Linked DNA regions of Homo sapiens: region 2 is linked to region 1. Evidence: promoter capture Hi-C in 16 types of primary human blood cells and fetal thymus (Javierre and others, 2016). All regions are on one chromosome and are shown on one strand. The core of a region is centred on a gene start or on the middle of the fragment in contact, and the rest is flanking DNA. Distances in the headings are between cores, read along the strand shown.

Region 1 (6,869 bases), core at 3,460-5,959:
GTTACTGACTACAGTGTGAAGGAAAAATGATTGGCAATCAATGCACATCTAAGATGTATCACTCTGTTCTATGATAAAGACACTTTCTTCTTGAAACACATGAGCAACAGGCTTTATCTACATTTTATTGACACATTTTCTCTGCACAGATGCAAAGATACCCCAAAATATAAAATTCTTCCTTCTCCAAACTCTACAATGCAATATAATTTTATATATTGTTTTAGGGAATAATGGAAGAAGAATAAAACAATGGTCAAACGTGAATGCATAAATTTAAGGTTTGTTTTGTGATGACTCCTCATATGGTTTAACTGAAGCTGTACTGTAATAGTCCAAAGGTCTAAATTTTACTGTAACAAATGGTCACATATGAAACCCTACTATTATGCTCATATTTTATTGTGATGTAAATCTGACCATTATATAGTTCATTGGCTCATAATGCTGACATTTATAAAAACTTACATGATATGCCAACTGTTCAAAATCGCTATTCTGCAGAAAGACTATATGCATTGAAATGATTCAGACTCCAATTTCAAATGCAGTGCACACATTACCAACCACTTCCATTTTTATATATTTTAATTATTGAATATGAAAAGACTAAGCAACAAGATATGACAGTCTTAAATTAGGAAATTGAAAAAGTAAGATTTCAAGATAATTACATGGTAATAAACTATTCCTTTGGACTATATCTTTAATTTAGAAAAGAGAGTGGGGTGACAAATGAGTAAAAGAACAGTTAGAAACCTAGAAGTTAACAAAGAGTTGTTAAACTTTAGTGACTGTTGCTTTTTTTTTTTTTTTTTTGTGAATCATCTGTAAATTTCAAGTATTTCCTTTTACTCGTGCTCATGAAAGATGATAGGAGAGTTGTGAAAAAAAAGACAAAGGGATATTACTAGGTATACTAATCGACAAAGTATAAGATGCAGCAAGGCAATCAGGATCCACATTCTATTTTGGATGGGAATCAAAACAATGTAAAATAAGTTTAGGCATAAATTATATAGTTTATATCTTCCAAGCACACATTTTATGCTTGGGTAAATATTATTTATATGAACTTCAGAGCAGACTGTTCCCAATTTGTCCTTTGGCCCAAAGGAGAGTTACTCATTCAGATTTTTATTAAAAAATGTTGATCCTAAAAAGCAAATCACTCAGTCAATACATGAAGGCTAAAGTATACTAGACCTAAATGGACAAACTTGTTTTTTTAAGATTTAACCTAGACCAGTCTTTCAATTTGCCTGAAAAATGCTATAGTGACTAATAAGCAATAAGCATATAATAGTAAACCAAATACTACTTTACCTACACTGAGCATTAAAAGGAAGATCAGAGACATCTCTTGCTATATCTTGAGTATGCATTTATTAAGATCTCTGTAAAGTGTTATCAAAGACTTCAAGATTTTAGTATATTTCAGTTATGTTTTGAGCAGCAGTCCTAAAGTACGTGTGAGTTAAGAGATGGCAATTGTCTAACACAAAAACTGCACTAAACTGCATCTGTATTTTAAAGCCAGATTCCTTCAATGCCGTAAGAACAGATTTGTGTATCTGAGGATCACAGTGGTTCTTAACCTGAAGAGTTCAGCTGAATCTGCTTAGCTACATGTGTAGAAAACATTTGATAATTCTAGCCTATCATACTTGCCACAGCTTTCAAGCATAGAGATTCGTCATAATTTCTTCACTACCTCGCCCTCTCACTGAAGCAACCAAAAAAAAAAAAAAAAAAAAAACCTAACTAGTAAAAACACCACACCTTAACTTAGTTATGGCAAGTAGCTGGCTCTATCTACTATTGTGCAATCAAAGAATATTTCTATTATTTGAGAATTAAATATGATCCAACTTTGTTACTACATAAGGCAAGTATGCTTAGCCCTGGGGGAAGTTTGTGGAGCAGCCATCAGTTTGCCTTCATTACATCATCATTACTTAATTCAAATGGTATGAGCTGAGATTCACTAGTAGCTCAAATATTCAAATCAAACAGTTAGTAATGTAGCTCTCCAAACTTTAGGCTAAGGATTTTTTGTTTTGTTTTGCTTTTTTTGGTCTCTAAAACAGTTTTTTTTGTTTTTTTTTTGTTTTTGGTCTCTCACTAAGCTATTTTTCTCCCTCATATTCAGAGATATTAAAATTCTATCTCTGAAAATCTTACTTATAATGTGAGCCTAATAATTTCTATAAATTTACCTCTAATTTTGTAAATTGCTGGTCTGTACTTGCTGTATGGGACAACAATACCTGTTGAAACAATATCTAACATCCAGAAATCCCTTTTGGAGATCTTAAACTTTTGTTTTCCTTCCTGGCAAAACTCAAGCTTTGGATTTAGTGAAAAGTACAAGGATATCCCATCTAGGCAGATGTTTATCAGAGTCTGATAAAAAACTAGATATGACCCCTTCCTGTCATTCGAGGTCTGTGATTAATAAAAAAAGAAGAGGTGATACCAGAAAGAAAATTTGTATCTTACTCCTGCTTTTACTTTCTCAAGTTTCTAACTATAAACACTTAAAAATCTAGTTACTCATACTGATTTACCAGCAGTGGGACCCAATCGTAGTTTAATAACAAAATGCCATAATTTACATAAAGAGTAAGGCAAGGTCAATCACCCTTGTAAGCAAGGTTTTAAAACCATCTTTGTGAAAAACCTCAGCTATGCTGCAGATTCCTGGAGAATGACCGTCACATGGTAAGGCAACCTTTAGAATCCATGACTTTGTCAAGAAGCAGAAATACTGCTCATTAGGGTTCTGTGCAACGGCAGGAAGTGTTTCGAAAAAACTTCTGGCTTCAAAGATGACTTTTCAAACGAACTTTTGGTTTTTGGTAACAAAAAACAACAACAAAAAGCTGAGTCCCTGGCTGATTACTCCTTTTTTCTGAGCAACTGAGTTGCATACAGTTATTCTCCTGTCTGAGGGACAGAAATGTGCTCTTAAATGAATGAGTTATAGGTTACAATTATTTACTACTCTTTCTTATGTAACAAGCTATAAATGACAAGAGCACTACCTGGCAGACAGACAGTAGACCTGTGATCCCCCCAACCACTCTGCTACCAGCCAGGTAGCTATACCCTCCATGGGCTTCAGTGTAGGGACTGTAGAATGAAGGGTGGCCTCAGGTGTCCTCTAACCCTAAACCAGCTCCCATTCTAATGCTGTACTGCAGACTGTGCTTCTTAACACCTGTAATGATTGAACAGAGTAATTTTCGTACTTTTTTTTTTTTTTTCTGAGATAGGGTCTCACTCTGTTGACCAGGCTGGAGTACAGCAGTGAGAACACAGCTCACTGAAGCCTTGACCTCTCCTAGGGTCAAGTGATCCTCCTGCCTCAGGCTCCTGAGTAGCTGGGACTACAGGCACGCACGACCACACTTGTCTAATTTTTTGTATGTATGTATGTATATATGTATGTATGTATTTTGTAGAGACAGGGTCTCACTAACAGCCCAGGCTGGTCTCGAACTCCTGTGCTCATGCGATCCTCCAGTCTAGGCCTTCCAAAGTGCTGGGATTACAGGCGTGAGCCACTGGCACTTGGCTTGGTACCATTTCTATGAACTTTCCAATAGTTAACATCATCTTTAAAACGCCCACTCCCAACCACCACACCAGGCAAAGTTCAAGTGTTCATAAATCAGAGCAGAGGGAAATGTACCCCCTCAAACAGAACAAATGAAAGCAAATGGCAGAGAAACACTGTATTGAGGAGTGGGGGGGGGGCGGGGGGGGGCGAGGGCACCAGGGATGGGACTAGGTGTTGGTTTAGCAAGAGAGGAAGGGGTGAGTGTAAGGTTTCAGAAAAGCTTTCCCAAATCTTCACGGAGTGTCTGTCCTCGGCTTCCGATGAGAGCAAAGTATTTGAGGAATGGAGTTTCCCTCACAAAGGCCAGTCTCAGAGCCAAGGCGGGTGGTGGAAAATGATCTGGAAAGGAACCTGGCTTTTGGTCTTGGTGGTGTCACTAACTAGGAGTGCAGCTTCGGGTTAAGTCACCCAATCCCTCTGAACTTGAGTTGAGGCTGAGAGGCGCCGGCCCGCTCCAAAGCAGCCTTCTCAACTAGTCCTGGTGTATGTATGATATACTTGCATTATTCAGAGTTCAAACTTCTGGAAAAGGCCCCCTGGCCTCCTCGCCTCCCTTCAGGAGAGCGAGCTCTGGCGTGCAGGACCTGCTCCAACTCCTACTGCCCATCCCATCCTCTGGGCCCCACCGAGTCCAGCCGACCGCGTCCATCGCATCTCGCCCTTGGATTGGGCCTCTCTCTTCTCCTAAAGGTACCCAGGCAGACGAGTTCAGGCAGAAAAGAAAAAGAAAAGAAGCAGAGAGGAGCCAGGCGGCCCGGCGGGGCTCTGGAGTGGGAAACTCGCGGCCGCGCTTACCCGCGATGTCCCACAGCTGCAGGCGCACCAGAGTCCTGCTGTCCCAGTTGAGGACCTTGAGGGCGAAGTCCACCCCGATGGTGGCCCGGTAGTGCTGGGAGAAGAGCTGGTGGACGTAGCGCTTGATGATGCTGGTCTTGCCCACGCCAAGCTCGCCGATCACCAGCACCTTGAAGAGGTGCTCGCGGGTCTCGGGCGCTGGGGCGGCGGCCGCCCCCAGGCCGGGGTCCCCGGCTCCTCCGCCCGCCATGAGCGCTGCGGCTGTCGGGCGCGCCTCGACTCCGAGTCTGGCCCCCTGCCCGGCCTCGCGCTCTGCCGCCGCGCCCCCGGCGGCCGCGGAAACTCCCCCGAGGCCGGCCAGCCCTCCGCCGCGCCCGCTGACGCCGCCTGACCGGTCACAGGACCCAGAACCCGCCAGTGCTCGCGGCCCGGGCGGGGCCAGACGAGGGCAGGGCCGGACGAGGGCAGGGCCTGGCGCCGGCTTGGGGAGGACCCTGCGCGAGGCGGCTCCCGCCCTGCGCCTCTGAAGCCCGGCCGGGCCCAACTGGACTTCCTCTCCCGGGCGGCGCCTCCGAAGCCCGGCCGGGCCCAGCTGGACTTCCTCTCCCGGGCGGCGCCTCCTGGCGGTCGCGGCGCGGAGGGAGGCCCAGACGCCCGCTGGTGGGCCTCCGGGGAGCCGGCCTGGAGCCTTTATGGGCCCCGGAGGTTCACTGGGGGCCTGAGGAGGCGCCGAGGTCGCTGAGCCCCCCCCGGGGCCGGGGTCGGCGTGGGGTCCGGGCCCAGCCTGGAAGCCTCTGGCCTGGAAATCCACCTCCTGCCCTACTCTCCCCGCAGGGAGAGCCACACTTGCGGGCCTTGGCTTGGGTCGCGAGCAGTCCCCTTTAGATGGGAAAGGAAGTGGCACCGTGACTTTGAACTTAACGAAGGACGGATAACACTGGGCTGGTAGTTCTGTTTTTAACTTTTTGAGTGAACCTCCGTAGGGTTTTCCATAATGGCTGTTCCAGTCCGCATTCCCACCACCAGTGTACAAGGTTCCCTTTGCTCCGCACATCACCGACACTTATTATCGCTTATCTTTTTTATAACAGTCATCCTAGCAGGTGTGAGGAGATACCTAGTGGCTTTTCCCTGTTCATTAGTGATTTTGAGCGCCTTTTCTTATACCTGTTGGCAATTTGTACTTCCTCTGGAAAAAAAAAAAAAGTCCATTCACATCCTTTGCCCGTTAGTTAACTGGGTGTTTTATTTATTTATTTTGGCTGAGTTCTGTGAACGTAATGTATTTTGGATATTAACCCCTTATCAGATATATGGCTCACAAATATTTTCTCCCAATCTATAGGCTGTTTTTTCATTTTGTTGATTATTTCCTATGCGGTGCAGAAGCATTTTAGTTGGATGAAGTCCCATTTATCTAGGTTTGCTTTGGTTGCCTGGGCTTTTGGTGTGATATTGCAAAAATCGTTGCTAAAGCCAGTGACCCAGCTATCCCTCTTCTGGGTGTATACTCAAAGGAAATGAAATCAGGATCTCAGAAATCGCTCTCAAGTTCATGCAGCATTATTCACAGTTGCGAAGATTTGGAAACAACCAAAGTGTCTGTTAACGATGAATGGATAAAGAAATTGTAATACATACATAGGCATGCACGCGCGCATATACACAGACGCACACACACACACAATGGAATATCATTCAGCCTTTAGAAGGCGATCCTGACATTTGCAACAACATGGATAAACCTGGAGGACATTATGCTAAGCGAAATAAGCCAGACACAAAAAGAAAGATACTGTGCAATATCACTTATATGTGGAATCTTAAACACACACACACACACACACACACACACGGAATACGTGGAAACAGTGGTGGTTACCAGGGGCAGGGAAGAAACGGAATGATGCAGGTCAAAGTGTACAAAGTTGCAGTTATATAGGATGAATGAGTCCTAATGATCTAATGTAGCATGAGCGTTATAGTTAATAATATTGTATTTTAAACTGGAAATTTGCTAAGAGAGTAGACTGTAAGTGCTGTTACCATTAAAAAAAAATTGCAGCCAGGTGTGGTGGCACCCACCTGTAGTCCCAGCTACCCAGAAGACTGAGGTGGGACGACTACCTGAGCCTGGGAGGTCCAGGCTTCAGTGAGCTTAATCGCACCACTGTATTCCACCTGGGCGACAGAGTGAGACCATCTCAAAAAAAAAAAAAAAAAAAAAGAAAAGAAAAAATGAAAAGAAAAAATTGTGTAACTATGTGAGATGATGGACATGTTAATTTGTTAATTTGCTTAACTCTAGTAACTATTTCACTATGTATATCAAAGCATCATGCCGTATACCTTAGATATAGATATATATATATATACACACACACACAACAAAATAGTCTATTAAAAACCTTATCATGCTTTAGCATTTAAATTATGGAAGGAGTTTGAG
Region 2 (7,267 bases), core at 585-3,084, 510 kb after region 1:
TATCCTGCCTCCCCCTTGACAGGCTCATCTTAACATTTGCCTCCAGAGCTAATCATGAACAATTTCTGGAGAGTCTATTGCATTGCAGGTAACTTTATGTGTACTGATTTTCTTTCATTTTATGTAAATTGATAATTGTCATGTATCAAGTGTGGTACAAATAATATGATATAAGATTGAAAAGAATGTAAGAGAATATAAAAACTAAATTGTAACTGGTTAAAACACAAAACAAAACAGAAAATATCTGCAAGTTTAGCTTCAATATAAAAAAAAGTAATATAAAAACAACTGTACCATTCAAAAACAATATGATTTCAAGATAATCTCACAATTAACTACAGAAATGAAGGTACACTAGTCCAGTCACTTAGTGCTTTTGGTATTAACTATTCTTGGTTAACTTCTAATACAAGAAACGATGATAATGAATTGACTAGGGAATGGCTGATTTGGAAAGGAGAGATGAAGGTCACGAGAGGCCCCAGAATTTCTAAGCCCTAAGTTGCCAATATCCAGACAAACTGGCTTCCTTGCTGAATAGTGCTCAGACGACAGAGACAACCCTGATATGTGGTCTTCTCTGCTATTTGACAGGGAACTGTCACCAATAAGCGACCCCATCAGTCTGAAAGCAGTAAAATTACTAAATGATCCAAGGAAGTGCCTGTAGGCCAGTACACTATGGGGCCCTGAAAAGCAGGAGGGCAAAACCTCAGGAAAAATGAATCTTCAGTGGGACCTTACACAAAATTCCTTTCCAGATAGAAGGAAAGAAATGCAATTTAGTTTTTACAGATGTTACGTTTAATAAGAGAAGTAACTAATTCCCTTTGAGAAGAAACAAGGTATTATATATGAATGGCAAGGTGAATGGTGTAACTGCTTGGTAATAAAATAAACCCCACATATTTCTATGATGCTGTTCTGTGAACACAATGTAGTCTGGAATCAATTACTATAATAGTACGGAGACATTGTCTTTGCCATACAACACCAATCAGAAGGCAGAAAGGAAACATAGTAATCCAAACTAACACATGGGCAAAATTATAATATTAGTCCTTTCGCAGCAAAATTAGTGAAAACATGTTCAATTCATTTTCCAAAAACATAATTCTACTCCTCAGAAAGCAACCCACTATTAGCCACCTCTCACCAAATAAAACAATCTTATAATGAAATATGGAAAATAAAACCACTGTTTAAAAATAATGAAGCATTACTTCTTCCTGAAGAAAGAATTTATACTTCCAATATTAATAATCAATTATCTAGCTCAATGGGGGAAATATTATTAAATATTTAAATAAATCACATTCAATCTAGATTTTGCCATTCTCTTTGCCATCATCTTTGGATCTATCCAATGATGATATTTAACACATTTTAACTTGCTCTTTCAGGATGTTTCATTTAAGCAAGCACTAAAGAAACTATGCTAAACATTAACATGTAGTAAAGTTAAATATTAAAATATAAGGAATTAATACTTTGAGTCTTAAAAAAGTAATGAATTTTTGTTCAAAAAGAGATACGCAGTTCATGATTAAAAATCAAGCTTCAGAAGCATAAGTCAGTTATTATAAAGTTATAATATCACAGCAGATAGTTTTTTCCAAAAGCAAAATCTGAAATTATAATGTGTAATCCTATATCATTTATGTTTGTTCTGAAAATTCTGTTCCCTTTATAAAGTATATGTTTTCAATAATGATAACCATATAATCACTTCACTATGGATGCTGTCAATTTCTATAATCAGACCTCACGCCAGTAACTGAATATTATGGAAATATTAAAAAAACATGGAGCCATGCCTATGGCTTCTTGAAAGTCATTTGAGTTGAAGAAATATGAATACAGAAATACCAGCAAGATTGTCTTCTTCTGCCAGCTTATACATGTGAATTGTCCTAGATGTTAATTTATAACCAGGGCTTCAGCTTTTTCATAAACCTACTGGGGGACTTAAGAGTAGCTGAGCTCAGAAATCCCCTTTTATTAAAAAATGTATATAACCTAAGGTGAAGAGAGTCTAGAAAATCTTTATATAAAAAATTTTTGAAAATTCACATCCATAAGTCTCTGGAAAAATCAAAGCTTTTAACCTTAGGTTAATCTATTGCATTTTAGAAAGACATTATAAACCTAATATCTGCTATCCATTCATTAGTATTTTATAACTGATCTAACTTTAATTCTAATATGTAAGTTCATTGTGTTAGAAGAAAAAAGACTAGAAACCAAAACTCAAATCCAAGTGGTCACCAGTGTTATTTCTCATAAAACAAGATAATTCTTGGGGGAGTGAGGGAATCTGGATGATTTTAGCCTATAAAGTAAGAAGAAAATACATTATTTAAATTACTTACTTTTTCTTTGTAACTAAGGTACTCCAGAAGTAAAAATATAAGTTTCTGATATACTGAGGGAGATGACTGCATTAATCCTACATTCACAGGAAAGTTTTGGATATGTAAGAAGGGGTACAAGAGGACAAAGAAAATCTTCAACTGTTAAAGAAAGATAAAGCTTTGAAGTCCTATTTGTGGAATAGTAACTTCTTTTTGCCAATCACTCACACTGAATTAACTCATTACACCTGGAAAGTCATAGCCAGTCACTGAAGGGCAATATAACACCTTGGACAAATAAGCCTTCCAAACGCAAACTCAAAATATGAGGGCAAACAAGTATTCAAGTCAAATCTACTGCTGGACACTTTGCATGGAAAGTTTGATACCCTTTCAGCTCCTATTATCCTCAGATATTCTATGGGGTACAATTTTCCTACACTATAATTGTAAGGAAATGAGGATAAAAGGCAATGCCTGGGTGGGCAGTACTGAGAAGGGTAAACTCCGTTCCCCACAGTGCTAGAAATAAACAGGAACAATACTATGATCCCAGGAGCACATCATGCATTGCCCTGACTTTCTCAGTACCCTTCTTTCCCAAATATAATGCCTACCTTCCGTGTGGACTGCAGAGACATAGGTCCAATTGTAACGTTTGACTATGTCAAGCATGGCCCTTGCCTGCAAAGTGTCAGAAGGGACAACCCTCAGGAAGTATTTGTACAAAGTTTTGTCACTCAGGTCGATGCTTGTGGCTGAATAAGCGATCTGGGGGATGTCGAAGAGCTGGAGCAGGTTCTGCACTTGAATGGCTACAGAGCTGGAGCCGGGACCGATCACTCCCGCAATGGGCTTCTTAGTCCTGCCTGGGGGGAGGGACTGGCCGTCAGGCAGACACCGGTTGATCCCATCCTTCTCATCTCGAATGGAAATCAGAGAGTCCCTAATGAACTCAATGCTCTGTTCCAGAGCCACGGAAGAGTGCCAGCAGGAGTCCCGGATCTCACTGCCCAGGGTGATGTTGGGCAGGAGGACCGGGTCCGCGTTGATCTTATCCAACGTGTGGAACATGGCCTCCACCCTCTGGATGCCATACTGCTCCCTGATCTCCCCACACTTCCTCTCGGGCACTTTCTCGGCCGGAGGCTGGTGATGGACTGAGAAGAGGGCTCCAATGATGACATCTCCGTCCATTCTGGCCACCGAGCGCTGAGACGACGCTCCTGCCAGCAACACTTTCCTGCCGGGGCTTCTGGGGAGAAGGGACACCTCCAAAAAGATCGCTGGGAAAAAAAACAAAAGGAGCCCGACCATGGTGGTGAGGACGAGGTCCACAGCCTGCCAGCCGCGTTCCCACGCTGGTCCCGCTGCAGGCTCCCGGCGCGCACCCCCAAGACGCCCAGCGCCGCCTCTCCCGGAGTGGTGCCCCTCGCCAACAATGGTCGTCCAAGGCCTTTGCCTCCTCCACCACCGCCTCCTTCCCCTTCGTCTCCTCCTCTGGGTCCTCCACGACCGCCTCTACAAGCTGGAGGCGTTTGTAAGGGAATTCGAGTCCCCGTTCTTCACCGGTAGTGCATCAAGGTAAATTGATCAAGAGTACAGTGGAAGTCGTGTTGGCAGCGGTGAGCTAGATGCTGCTGACAAAAGACAGAGAAAAATCACAACCTTGTCATCAGAGGACCTGTGTTAAAACTCTGGGGTCTATAATGTTAACAGTTGCCTTGTCCGTTTCATTTCGGCACATCCTGATATCGGCTGCAGGAACAGCTTGGAGCGCAGCTGTGGTCACTGAGGAAGGCGGGGTGTCCTGCCCCCTCTGTCCTCACGGGTCCAGGCGGCGCAGAGCCCCGCCAACTCGCCCGCTCCTCCAACCTTAAGTCGTTTCCTGGTCCCCTAAAACCTATCATGCTTTCTAACTTGGAGGGCGGTGGGGAAGGTGAGCAGAGAGGAGGGGAGGAGCTAGGTCCTTCAACCCAAGAGAACTTTCCGGATTGGAAAAGATCAACTTTTTTTCAGAAGAAAATTTGGAAACTCATTGTAAAGGTGGAAGCGCGACTTTAAAATAAACGTAAACAAAGGATGCACCTTTTACTTTAATTTTGAGGGGTTGAAGAAGCCCTGACATAAAATCAGCTGTAAATATAAATTTGCCAGCTTGAAGAAAATCCACATTAGTTACTAAGGCAACGCCTGGTAAAGTCTCCGTATGGAGGAGTTTGGTATGTTTCCCCCGTAAGAAGTCAGGCTTGCTGTGTATGTTCAAGAAGAAGGGGTGCAGATAAGGTAACTTGTTTCCCGCGGTGGGTGGACGGGTTAGGGGGGGTCCTGCGCTTGCTTTGGGGTTTGCATAGTTGCTAGAAAGGGAACGGAGGGGAGCTTCCGGGTTGCTCTCGCCGCGGCAGCCTGAGCCCTGCCGCCTTCAGGACCCTGGACAGTGCTCGGTCCAGCCAGACATTCCCTGGCAGGGCCTGCAAGGGACGCTTTGACCAGTGAGTTGCAATTCCCTGACCCGCTTTGCTCTTTCAACCTCCCTCCTCTGAGTTCTTTACCCATACACACACACACACACACACACACACACACACACACACACACACACTCCCTTCCACTCGAGTCCCCACCGCCCCTCCGCCCTCATTCTCATCACCTTGCACCGCTTGTGCAGGTATATATCCAAACCCACCCGCTTGGGGACAGAGGCGCCAAATCTCAGCCGCCTGCGGGGCTGAAGTTGGCTCCCTCTCCCGTTCCTCCCCTGCTCCTTTTCTCAAGGTGAGAGTCGACGAAAAGGGGGCTATGGGAGCGGGCGAGGAGAGCACAGGAGGTGAGGCAGAAAAAGGAGAAAGAAAACCCAGGCACCCATTGGTCCCGACTCTTCCTGAGGATACAGGACGAAAAGAAATACATAAGCGAGAATGCGCCTGGGACCCGGAGGAAAATCTGATAGACTGGGACTTTGTCTGCCGTTGTGGGTGGGTTTCACCGGAGGAAGTGTCCGCTCACCTGAGTCTGTTTGGAGGACATGGACTTGAGACATACCTGAGTACCTGAGTCGGGGTAGACAGCGCTATGGTCCCGGGGCCAGAGGACCGTGGCCACGCTCGGCTTGCAGACGCCTCAGCTCTAATCCAGACGGTGCAAGGATGCGATCTGGGCTGTACACTAGTGCCCTCTTTCTTCAGCACTATTTTACCGCAAGGGAAAAAGAGGGGGAGGGAAGAAAAAAAAAAACAGGTCACCCAAGGCTTGTCTATTATCTCATGTATAAAAATCAGTCGTTTGATAGAGGGAGGAGGGGAGACAAACTAGGAGGAAGTGGGGAATATTAATTCCTTTACTATATGAGGGGTCGTATAGAAGCTGCCAGATACGTGAATAGTCAGACAATCTGGCCAAAGAAGTGGAGAACTGCCTAGGCTGCTTTGGGGTAGATATCTTTGTATATATATCTCAGGGACTCAAATATATTTTCTCTTTCTGCGAGTAAAGTCCCTACAGAGGGAAACAGAGTGTAAACACATGTACAGACATCTAAAGAAAGGCTCTATTAGTAGATTGCAAGGGAAATCAGGAAGAGGCTGCATAGGGTGGGAGAAGGGAAAGGACAGGCATGCCCATTATGAATTAAGGTATGCCAAATGAAGAGAGACATATTGTGGCTGCATTTTCAGGTCAAGATGTAACTAAATTGAGAATGAGAGTCAGGTCACATGAAAATACTGGAGTGACAAATACTTATCCAAATTCCTCCCAGGCGGCCATCACCTTCCCTACAGGTCTATGGTGTTGCTTCTGACTGTGTGAAAAGCGGAAGTTAAATCACATTCCTCTGGGAACATGTTGGCTGAGCAGAATGTGGCCCGGCTTTTTCAGGGGAAAAGACAAGTGACAGTGTGTCTTTCTACTCTTGTTCAAAGCTTTCTATTTGTGTCATCTGCAGAGCAGAGAGATCAGCTTACGTTGGTCCCTTATGGGTCAGCTTATAATCGCCTTGCTCAGGTCATTATTATATTATGGAATGGTGCCATGTCAGACTGGAGGGGACAAACCACATGAGGCAGTTTCAAATACTCTTCAGTGTGTTCCATGAAACTTAGGAAGGAAAACAATACCTCTAGTCAATAACAAAAGGTCTTTCTCATTCTGGTTCTGATCTTTTTTTCCCTAAGTGTCAGAGTTTTCTGGATTTTTTTTTTTTAGACAGCCCAAAGAGAATATATTTTTTTCTTTTTCCACAAATAATGCACTAAACAACGTTCACATTTTTTAGACTAAATGATCTCAATTCGGGAAGTAGCCACATGTTTACATAAGGAAAATGGGAAGAGGTAAGTTCTGATCATCACATATGGGACTAAATGGCTCTCTGCTTCTACCCTAGGAATATGTCTGTTCGAAGAACAGCAAGCCACAGGTATGCACAGAGTCCCATAGTATCTGACTTCCTCTAGTAGCCACTTAAGTTCAATTTTAGATAAGCCCATTAGAGTGTGATAAGCTCTAAATGTTACTTTCCTAGAATATTCCAGAGATATAGTGAATGTGCAAAGATTTCTGTGCATATATACCCCTTAATTATGATTTTCAGCATTAAAGAAAGTAATGTCTCTGAAGTCCACATTTAGTGTCAATATGTGCTCCTAAAGCTGAACATCTTTAATATATCACATTGCTGTACTGAAGGAATAATTAAATGTTCAGATTTATTGGTTCTCAAATTCATTTTACAGTCCAAGTAAAAACTACACATTCAGGCTGGCTGAAACTAATCATTTTAAAGACGATGAATTTGAGGATTATAACATGCCAGATGCATGCATATACAAAAAGTGTTAAAGAAAAAAAATTTCAAATGTATTAATTTGAAATGATCAATTAAATTTATTGATAATTATTTAAGAGCTAAC

What was found. The method cuts DNA at HindIII sites, captures the fragments that hold promoters and counts their contacts. A CHiCAGO score of 5 or more calls a contact.
Region 2: a contact is called between a fragment that was not itself captured here and the fragment with the promoter of RAB32 in region 1, in 1 of 17 cell types (endothelial precursors). The highest score is 9.7, in endothelial precursors.

The regions. Positions count from the first base shown.
Region 1 is chr6:146,541,673-146,548,541 of GRCh38, reverse strand. It overlaps RAB32 (RAB32, member RAS oncogene family), which reads right to left and starts at 4,709. Exons shown (of 3, transcript NM_006834.5): 1 at 4,421-4,709. The coding sequence starts at 4,670. RefSeq lists a silencer at 4,756-5,135. The HindIII fragment of the contact is 5,944 bases long and covers 3,848-6,869 here.
Region 2 is chr6:146,025,925-146,033,191 of GRCh38, reverse strand. It overlaps GRM1 (glutamate metabotropic receptor 1), which reads right to left and starts at 4,130. Exons shown (of 8, transcript NM_001278064.2): 1 at 2,975-4,130. The coding sequence starts at 3,674. RefSeq lists enhancers at 3,311-3,811, 3,812-4,312. The HindIII fragment of the contact is 542 bases long and covers 1,564-2,105 here.